Linked DNA regions of Homo sapiens: all the other regions are linked to region 1. Evidence: promoter capture Hi-C in 16 types of primary human blood cells and fetal thymus (Javierre and others, 2016). All regions are on one chromosome and are shown on one strand. Each heading gives the region's core, a stretch centred on a gene start or on the middle of the fragment in contact. The rest is flanking DNA. Distances are from core to core; before and after follow the strand shown.

Evidence for each region. Contacts are between HindIII fragments. The CHiCAGO score rates a contact against its expected background, and 5 or more counts as called.
Region 2: a fragment that was not itself captured here is called in contact with the fragment with the promoter of GPR3 in region 1 in 11 of 17 cell types (M0 macrophages, M2 macrophages, total CD8 T cells and 8 more); the score reaches 7.6 in M0 macrophages.
Region 3: a contact is called between a fragment that was not itself captured here and the fragment with the promoter of GPR3 in region 1, in 16 of 17 cell types (M1 macrophages, total CD8 T cells, M0 macrophages and 13 more). The highest score is 9.6, in M1 macrophages.

What each region holds. Positions count from the first base shown.
Region 1 is chr1:27,391,236-27,394,277 of GRCh38, reverse strand. It overlaps GPR3 (G protein-coupled receptor 3), which reads right to left and starts at 1,656. Exons shown (of 2, transcript NM_005281.4): 1 at 1,541-1,656; 2 at 1-484. The coding sequence starts at 479. RefSeq lists enhancers at 1-65, 894-1,429, 1,967-2,503, 2,504-3,040 and a silencer at 1,453-1,952. The HindIII fragment of the contact is 9,449 bases long and covers 1-3,042 here.
Region 2 is chr1:27,288,321-27,291,362 of GRCh38, reverse strand. All of the region lies in intron 6 of WDTC1 (WD and tetratricopeptide repeats 1), which reads right to left. Among named protein-coding and RNA genes, the nearest start is that of TMEM222, 32 kb to the left of the region's middle. RefSeq lists an enhancer at 1,138-2,123. The HindIII fragment of the contact is 3,699 bases long and covers 1-3,042 here.
Region 3 is chr1:27,306,095-27,309,136 of GRCh38, reverse strand. WDTC1 (WD and tetratricopeptide repeats 1) reads right to left here. Exons shown (of 16, transcript NM_001276252.2): 16 at 501-2,951. The coding sequence ends at 2,754. Among named protein-coding and RNA genes, the nearest start is that of TMEM222, 15 kb to the left of the region's middle. RefSeq lists enhancers at 305-829, 830-1,355, 1,356-1,881. The HindIII fragment of the contact is 299 bases long and covers 1,436-1,734 here.

The sequences.
Region 1 (3,042 bases), core at 407-2,906:
ACTAAGGCCAGCATCACATAGGTCCGTGTCACTGTTGTCTCTGAATAGTAGGTGAGGGCATTGTACAGAGAAAGGTAGCGGTCGACAGTGATGGCCAGTAGACTGCCGATGCTGGCGGTAAAGGCCATTGCCAGCACGCCAACCAGCACCAGGCTCATCTCCGCTGAGCCGATGCAGAAGACAGCAGCAAAGTGCAGGACCAGGCCCAGGCCTGCCAGCAGGTCTGCCACGGCCAGGCTGCCCACCAGCAGGAACATGGGGGCACGGAAGGCAGGAGTGCCCACGATGATGGCCACCACTAGCGCATTCTCGCAGGACACCAGGGTGCCTGAGATGCAGAGCACCACATCCCAGGCCTTAGGCGAGGGCAGTGGTGCGGCTGGACCTGTGGGCCCCTCTGCTGGGCCCACGCTGCTTACATTCACGTTGCCTGAGCCAGCTGAGAGCCAGGCCAGAGGGCTGCCTGCACCCCACATCATGGTACCTGCAGGAGAAAGGCCTTGTGAGAAGCTGACCAAGCTGGGTGATGGGAGTTGGGGTCTGGAGGGGGTGAGGTGCTTCTCAGGATACGTGGTGGGAGTCTCTCCTCAGGATACCTGATAGGGTCCCAATGCCTTATCCCCACATTCATGCCCTGGGGCTCTTCCCAGGATACCGCTGTCCCCTCCAATGCCCCCAGGCCTCTAAACAGGGGTCTCTTCCTGGGGATCCCTGTCCTAGGTCCTGCAGGTCTCTTTTTCCCACGTGTGTGACCAGAGGAGAGACAGAAGAAGGGGTACTATAAGTGGAAGAGGGCCATAGGATCCAGGGGATGCCCCCGAAGGCTCAAGATTGGGGTAGGGAAACATCTACCCCATCAGGGAGACTGAGCAGCTCCGCTCCCTCCCATCAGAGATGATGATGCTAGCTCGTGCCTGAGGCTCCCAGACCCCTCACGATTTTCAGTACTGCCAGCCTTAGACTCCGCCCCCAGGGAATGCGCGTGAAGCTCCCGCCAGCCATCACCCCGCACTCCCGCGGTAACACCTGGGAACTCAGCCCCCCACCCCCCACCCTCCCAGACTTCTGTTCCTGGCTGGACCCTTCTTTCCGCCTGAATCTCTAGGTCTCTGGGCAGACCCCCCTGCTGGAAGACTGGATCCCTGAGTCAGATGCCTCCTTCTGCCCGGACACCTGGATTTTGGGCCTGACTCTGCCTCCTGCCTGGATACCTGGATTCCTAAATTGGACACCTCCTGCTGTTCGGACCCCTGGGTCCCTGCCCCAGACGCCTCCTGCCGGCTTAACCTCAGATGACCATCAGTCCCTCCAGGGCCTCGGGTCCCTGCAGGAATGCTTACCCTTCGCCGGGTCATCCAACTCAACCCCAGCACTCGAGCACTTGGGCCCAAGCCTGCTAACCCAGAATCGCCTAAACCCAGAATTCCCACCTCGAACTCGAACCCCGGCCGGCCACTAGGAGCCTTCCGCCGGCCCAGTGCCCCAGCATCCTGCGTGCCCTTCAGGACCCCTGGTGCCCGCGGCGGGGCCCGCTACTCACCGCTCAGGACCAGGCGCGGCCGGGCCGCGGGGAGGCTCCGCTCGGGTCCTGGCGGCGCAGGGCGTGCGTGGACCCCGAGAAGCCCCCGCGGCCGCGGGAGAAGCGGCGTGAGTCACCCCGCCCCGCCCCCGGCCACCGGTTCGGTGACGTCAGCGGTCCGATCAGCCAATGGGCGCGGCGCGCTGGGGCGCAGCGCGCGTTGCGCGGCATAGTAATAAGGCCTCGCACCGCCCGCTCCCCCATTCATAAAAAGCGACCGTGGCTGCGGCCCCGCCCCCTCCCGAGTCCGCCCGCGCTGTCCTTGACGCGGCGCCCTCTGCGGGCCGGGGGTTTCAGAGGCGCCGGTGCGAGAGCCTTGAAGTCTCAGAGAGGCTGCAGGGAACGTGGTGGAAGAGTGGAAAGGGGGCCCGGCTAGGCTGTGGGGTGATGGGACCCTTGGGTGGCAGAGAGGCTGACGAGATCCAGGTGACGAAGGAAGAGCTTGTGATGGGGCTGGTTGGGCTTCCCTGGTGAGAATGACAGGGTTTCCAAGATGATGGGGCCCTGAGGTGACGATGACAGGGAGCACGAGGGAGCGGGGAGGTGGGTGGCAGTGACGACATTAGCATGGTGACAGAATCTTGGGGTGGGGGGTGATGGCCGTGGGACGCTAACGGTAGAGGGGAAGCCCTCAGGGCAACCATGGCAGTGTCAGGGTGACTATGCAGCAGGGGGGAGTTCAGGGACCCCGGGATGGCAGAGGCAGCGGCCTGGGAACATGGAGTGTCCAGGTGACTTCAGGTCACCATTACCCTGTCAGAATGGCTGGGGTACTGAAGCGACAATGCTAAGCCATGAGGACTGTGGGGCCCTGGAACGAAGATAGCAGGTGGCTGTGGTGAGTGGGCTCCAGGGTGAGGGGCACAGGGTAGAGGGTCTGGACTGACAGTGACCAGGCAGGTAAGTTGCTGCCAGGGCAAGTCCCGTGATGCCGGGGCTGGGATAAGAGCTGGGTGACGTCACTCATGTCAGCCCAATAGCGCCCTCACAGCACCGGAGGGGTGGGCCTGGCAAGATTTCAAAACCTGAATTATTTATTCCAGTATCTAGAAAGCCAGCGTGGAGGGGGTGAGGGGTGCACTTCCCTGAAGCAGGAGGAGATGGGGAGCCGGGAAGAACTTGGAAGCAGAAAGCCTGGCAGCTCAGTCCTCAGGGCAGGCCCCTCTCAGCCTCCTATTTTAGGCATCCTGATGGGTGGAGCAAGGAGAAAGAGCTCCCTCTTCCCCAACGCCATCTGCCCTTAGTCCAGGGGAACCACTCTGGGCAGACTTCTCCAGATGTGACAGATGTGGCCAGTCCTGCGGCAGGGGGACTGGCTGCTCCTTCTCCCTGTGTCTCTTGCCTTGATGCTCCCTGGAATCATGCAGGCCTGTGGGAGGGGAAGATGAGGTTAAGAGGCCTGAGGATCCCAGGCCCCACTGGACACCCCCATCACAGCACCATCACTGCAGCCCCCATGGTCA
Region 2 (3,042 bases), core at 184-2,683, 100 kb after region 1:
TTCCTCAATACTTTTAGCACAAGTTTACTTTTACCAAACTCCTCAGTCTGGTTTTCAAGACTCAATTTCACATTTCTCTCCAACCTTATTCCTCAGTTTTCTAAATGTGGGTCAATTATAACTACAGAATTCTTTATCCTGCACATGCCATGTTTATTTCTGCCTTTGCAAACTCTGCTCAAGCTGGGGAATACACTCTGCTTTTCCTTGCTCATCCAAATCCTGTCTGTTCTGGAAGGCCCAGCTTATGTTCACCTTCTGCTAGGACACCTTCTCTGACTGTGCCTATGCCTAAACACTTAGGATCCTACCCAATGCGCTAGACGCTCCGCTTCTACCAGCTGGCCCTGGCAAAATCTGGTCAGCCAAGGTCAAAAAGTGCTACACAGAGTTGGACCTGCCACTGACAAAGTGCATTCTGTCTTCTGAGGTTCAGGGATGCAGTGACTTACCCCAGTCAAATACTGAGTGCGATTGCTAGGATTTGACCCCAGGTCTGTCTGACTTCACTGCCTTGCTCTTGACTATGTTATAATTTATATATGACTTAGATATTCCTCATCTGTAAAAGGAAAGAGGGCACAAAGTCCTACAGGAACTCAAGGGAGACAGATTAAAGCAGGCTGGGGAGATAAGAAAGAAGTTCTAAGGTCACAGCTGAAGAAAGGAGTTAAAGAAGGGCAACGACACCATTTTAGAATGAAGGGAAGTAGAGGCAAATGTGTAACAATGCAGGGCACTGGAAAAGGGGACAGTCCATTTTACCATTTCCGGGTGGCTTGCCCCCTCCCAGGTATATAGCCACTGACCAACTGTTCAAGAGAAATGTATCAAGCGGCTCTATGTGCCAGGCGCTGTGCTGGGCTCTAGGGATACAACCAAGAACAAGACAGACATGGAGTTGCTCTAAGAGAGTTTACTTTTACTATTTAGTGAGGATACAGACAAAAAAGTAAACCAATAAGTAAAAATAAAATAAGGCCAGGTGTGGTAGCTCACACCAGCAATCATAGCACTGTGGGAGGCCGAGGTGGGAGGATCACTTGAGCCCAGGAGTTTGAGACCTGCCTGGGCAACACAGAGAAACCCCATCTCTACAAAAAAAATAGAAAAATTAGCCAAGCATGGTGGAGCGTGTCTGTAGTCCCAGGTATTCAGGAGGCTGAGGTGGGAGAATCGCCTGAGCCCAGGAAGTCAAGGCTGCAGTGAGCCATGATCACGCCACTGCACTCCAACCTCGGCAATAGAATGGAGTGAGACCCTGTCTCAGAAAATAAATTAATTAGCTCCCTCTCCCTCTCCCCCTCCCCCTCCCCACGGTCTCCCTCTCCCTCTCCCCACGGTCTCCCTCTCCCTCTCTTTCCACGGTCTCCCTCTCCCTCTCTTTCCACGGTCTCTCTCTGATGCCGAGCCGAAGCTGGACTGTACTGCTGCCATCTCGGCTCACTGCAATCTCCCTGCCTGATTCTCCTGCCTCAGCCTGCCGAGTGCCTGCGATTGCAGGCGCGTGCCGCCACGCCTGACTGGTTTTCGTATTTTTTTGGTGGAGACGGGGTTTCGCTGTGTTGGCCGGGCCGGTCTCCAGCTCCTAACCGCGAGTGATCCGCCAGCCTCGGCCTCCCGAGGTGCCGGGATTGCAGACGGAGTCTCGTTCACTCAGTGCTCAATGGTGCCCAGGCTGGAGTGCAGTGGCGTGATCTCGGCTTGCTACAACCTCCACCTCCCAGCCGCCTGCCTTGGCCTCCCAAAGTGCCGAGATTGCAGCCTCTGCCTGGCCGCCATCCCGTCTGGGAAGTGAGGAGCGTCTCTGCCTGGCCGCCCATCGTCTGGGATGTGAGGAGCCCCTCTGCCTGGCTGCCCAGTCTGGAAAGTGAGGAGCGTCTCTGCCCGGCCGCCATCCCATCTAGGAAGTGAGGAGCGTCTCTGCCCGGCCGCCCATCGTCTGAGATGTGAGGAGCGCCTCTGCCCGGCCGCGACCCCGTCTGGGAGGTGAAGAGCGTCTCTGCCCAGCCGCCCCGTCTGAGAAGTGAGGAGACCCTCTGCCTGGCAACCACCCCGTCTGAGAACTGAGGAGCCCCTCTGCCCGGCAGCCGCCCCGTCTGAGAAGTGAGGAGCCTCTCCGCCCGGCAACCACCCCGTCTGGGAAGTGAGGAGCCCCTCTGCCCGGCCAGCCGCCCCGTCCGGGAGGTGAGGGGCGCCTCTGCCCGGCCGCCCCTACTGGGAAGTGAGGAGCCCCTCTGCCCAGCCAGCCGCCCCGTCCAGGAGGGAGGTGGGGGGGTCAGCCCCCTGCCCGGCCAGCCGCCCCGTCCGGGAGGGAGGTGGGGGGGTCAGCCCCCCGCCCAGCCAGCCGCCCCGTCCGGGAGGGAGGTGGGGGGGGGGTCAGCCCCCCGCCCGGCCAGCCGCCCCGTCCGGGAGGTGAGGGGTGCCTCTGCCCGGCCACCCCTACTGGGAAGTGAGGAGCCCCTCTGCCTGGCCACCACCCCGTCTGGGAGGTGTACCCAACAGCTCATTGAGAACGGGCCAGGATGACAATGGCGGTTTTGTGGAATAGAAAGGGGGGAAAGGTGGGGAAAAGATTGAGAAATCGGATGGTTGCCGTGTCTGTGTAGAAAGAAGTAGACATGGGAGACTTTTCATTTTGTTCTGTACTAAGAAAAATTCTTCTGCCTTGGGATCCTGTTGATCTGTGACCTTACCCCCAACCCTGTGCTCTCTGAAACATGTGCTGTGTCCACTCAGGGTTAAATGGATTAAGGGCGGTGCAAGATGTGCTTTGTTAAACAGATGCTTGAAGGCAGCATGCTCATTAAGAGTCATCACCACTCCCTAATCTCAAGTACCCAGGGACACAAACACTGCAGAGGGCCGCAGGGTCCTCTGCCTAGGAAAACCAGAGACCTTTGTTCACTTGTTAATCTGCTGACCTTCCCTCCACTATTGTCATATGACCCTGCCAAATCCCCCTCTGCGAGAAACACCCAAGAATGATCAATAAAAAAAAAAATAAATAAATAAAAATTAATTAATTAATAAAAATAACTA
Region 3 (3,042 bases), core at 336-2,835, 85 kb after region 1:
AAAAAAAATAGCTGGGCATGGTGGCACATGCCTGTAATCCCAGCTACTTGGGAGGCTGAGGTAGGAGAATCACTTGAACCCGGGAGGCGGTGGTTGCAGTGAGCTGAGATCATGCCACTGCACTCCAGCCTGGGCAACAGAGCAAGACTCCGTCTCAAAAAAAAAAAAAAAAAAAAAGAATGAAATAAATATTGTTTCTTCCAATTCAGGTGTATTATTTTTTAAATGGCAACTAACTTGTTAGGACATAAATACTTTTTAAGTGATTTGGACTTAACTACTTAATAAATTGAACTGTTATTTCTTTTGGCTTAGAGGCTCCATGAAAAAATTACTGAGATGGTAATGGTGCTGTGAGCTAAGAAAGTTCAGGAACCTATAGTCTAAGAGATTATCTAATCCAGGGCACTTCAAAAACTTGCATATGTGAAATCAATTTAGTGGGTTATAGCCATATTTTTTTCCCTAATAAAACAGAAGGGTAAGCAGAGTACACTGCATGTAGCAAGGGTAAATATTATTGTGTAAAACTTTTGTTCATTTTTTTTATATATATATACACACACACATATCTACAAGTAATCATGTGTATATTGGGTCACAATGTAAAATGGTTTGAAAAACCACTAAGATTCCAAGTCCCTTATTTTACTGATGAGAAAACAGCCAGAGAGTGAAAGCTGATGATTACAAATCACAGCCATGAGAGCTGGGCTCTGCACTCAGCCCTGCTGGGCTGGGTGGCCGCTGCTCACGGTGACCCTTCAAGGCAGGCCTCATTCTGTCCAGTAGAGGTGTGGTTACTAAGTCATAGAGCTACAGAGGTGAGGGACCAGGTGCCCTCACTTTGGTTCCAAGACCCATCTGCACCCCACAAATGCCACCAGCCACACCTAGAACAAAATGGTTTTAATCAATTGCGTCACCCTCACTCTCCTGGGAGCGGAGCAACAAAAAGGCTCGGCTCCTGCCCCCAGAGGACAGTAAGGCTTATGTGTCTCTCCACACTGCAGGGCCCAGGCTGGGCAGGCAGGGGGTGGGAAGCAGGACAGGGGGCAGGGAGGGAGGGTGGGAGGCAGGGAGGAAATGGCAGGTGGCTGGAACACAAGAAAGCAAAGGGGACCCAGCTGGTCCTTGGGCCCCAGGGCCCAGCCCCAATACTCCTGCTCTCCCTTCTCCCTGGCTAGAGAAAGGTCACGGAGAAGAGACAGGGGAGCAGGTCCCAGCAGCAGGAGAAGCAGCAGCAGCTGTTTCCTTCACCAATAAATATACTTCATTACCAAGCTAGAAGAGAGGGGTGGGAAGAGGGACTGGGGTGGGAAGGAAGGGGGAGAAGCTGCCACCTGTGTTGCTGGGATTAAAGCAATGAGATGGTGCCAGACCCCCCACCACTATCCTCACCCTCCACTTGTCTTCTTAAAACTGTGAAAAAGCTTTTAACATGGCCCTCCTGTCTCCAGGGCTGCTCTGAAGCCTGACTGAGAGGAGGCACCTGGCAGAGACAGGGGCTGAGGGAGGGAGCGAGGGAGTGGAGGGAGAGGAGAAGGGAGGCTGCTTTTCCCCAGGGGCTGCAGCTGGAGGGCTGGAGCCAAGTAAGCACTGAAGGGGAAGCAGGGAGGGAGAGAGGGGGAAGGATGAACCAACTACCTGGAGCAGCTGGAGCTAAGAGCCGGGGGCAGAGGGGAGGAGAGGCCTGGTGAGTGGTGGGTTGATCGCTGCATCCAGTGTAAAGCTTGGGGCTGCTGGGGAGGGAGGGGCCGAGTAAGGGACTTTCCCATCTGAGTGGCTCAGGAGACCCACCCCTCTCCCCTCAGAGCAGCAGGGGACAGAGAAAAGCCATCACTTCTTTGGTCTTTGTGGCGGCTCAGCATGTGGGATGGGAAGGAGGGCAGAAAGGGCAGAGAAGGGCCCTTAGCAGGAAGCGCCACCTCAGCAGAGTAGGCCTGGCTGGGAGCTCTGGCAGAAAGGTCACAGTGAGGCTGAGGAGCGCCCAAGAGGAGAATGGCCGTAGTGCAGAAGTGCTGGCATGGATGGGTGGGGTAAGGTGCAGTGCCCCACCCTCTGCCAGGGCCCTTGGGAAAGGCAGAGCCTCCAGAGGTGGCCAGTGAGAGTAGGTGCAGGGCCAGAGCTAGTAGCCAGGAGAGGAGCGAGGGTGCTCCACAGCGACCTCAGCAGGTGGCCTGGTCTTGCCCACTCCAGGGCTCCCATCCTTCCTTTGGGCTCCGCTCTAACACTGGTGGCTCTGGAGGGAGGGTGGGACCCATCCTTTTTCAAAACCTTTCCTGAAGACCACAGGGGAGCTAGCCTTGCAGGCTAGGGAGCAAGAGTGGCAACAGGCCAAGGCGAGCCCTTACCAATTGGGAATCCCACTCCTCCTGCTGCTGCCAGCTAAAGGGCAGGACAGTCCCTGAAGACAGTTCAGCTTGTTCCTCCCCACCTGAGGCAGAAGGGGTTTTGAGGCAGGCCAGAGCCCTCCAGGGACATGAAAGCAGGAGATGGGGGGGGGCATATGGAGGGGTGTCCCCTCCTGCTCTTTTTTTCAGGGCTGGGGATAGTCAGGGGACAATCAGCCCAGAGTCCGAAAGCCAGCAAGTTGTAGCAACCTCCACCCCTAACGCCAAACTAACAAACAAAACAGGGGAAATGAAAAAAAAGGGTGGTGGGGAAGACAAACCAAAACAGAATCCCCTGACCTCCTGCCCAGGGCAGAGGGTCCAGCCAGTAGCAGGGGCTGGGGACCAGGGCTGGAGGGTCTAGCTGGGCCGGCACTGCACCTGGCCCTCAGAGCTGTCCTCATCATCAGAGGCCCCGGCACCCCCACTGCTCAGGCCCGTGATCCGGTAGCCCATGTTGAGCAGCATCACCTCCAACGGGTCTGCATTCATGCGCCGCTGGTTGGCCTGTGAAGCACCCTCCATATCTTCCACGACTCGGCCTGTGAGGTCTTCACTCTGTGGTGGAGAAAGGGGTGACACACGTGGGGCTCAGGGAGGGAGAGGCACCAGGGTACACGTATAGGGGAGGGGGAGGGAAATACACAGA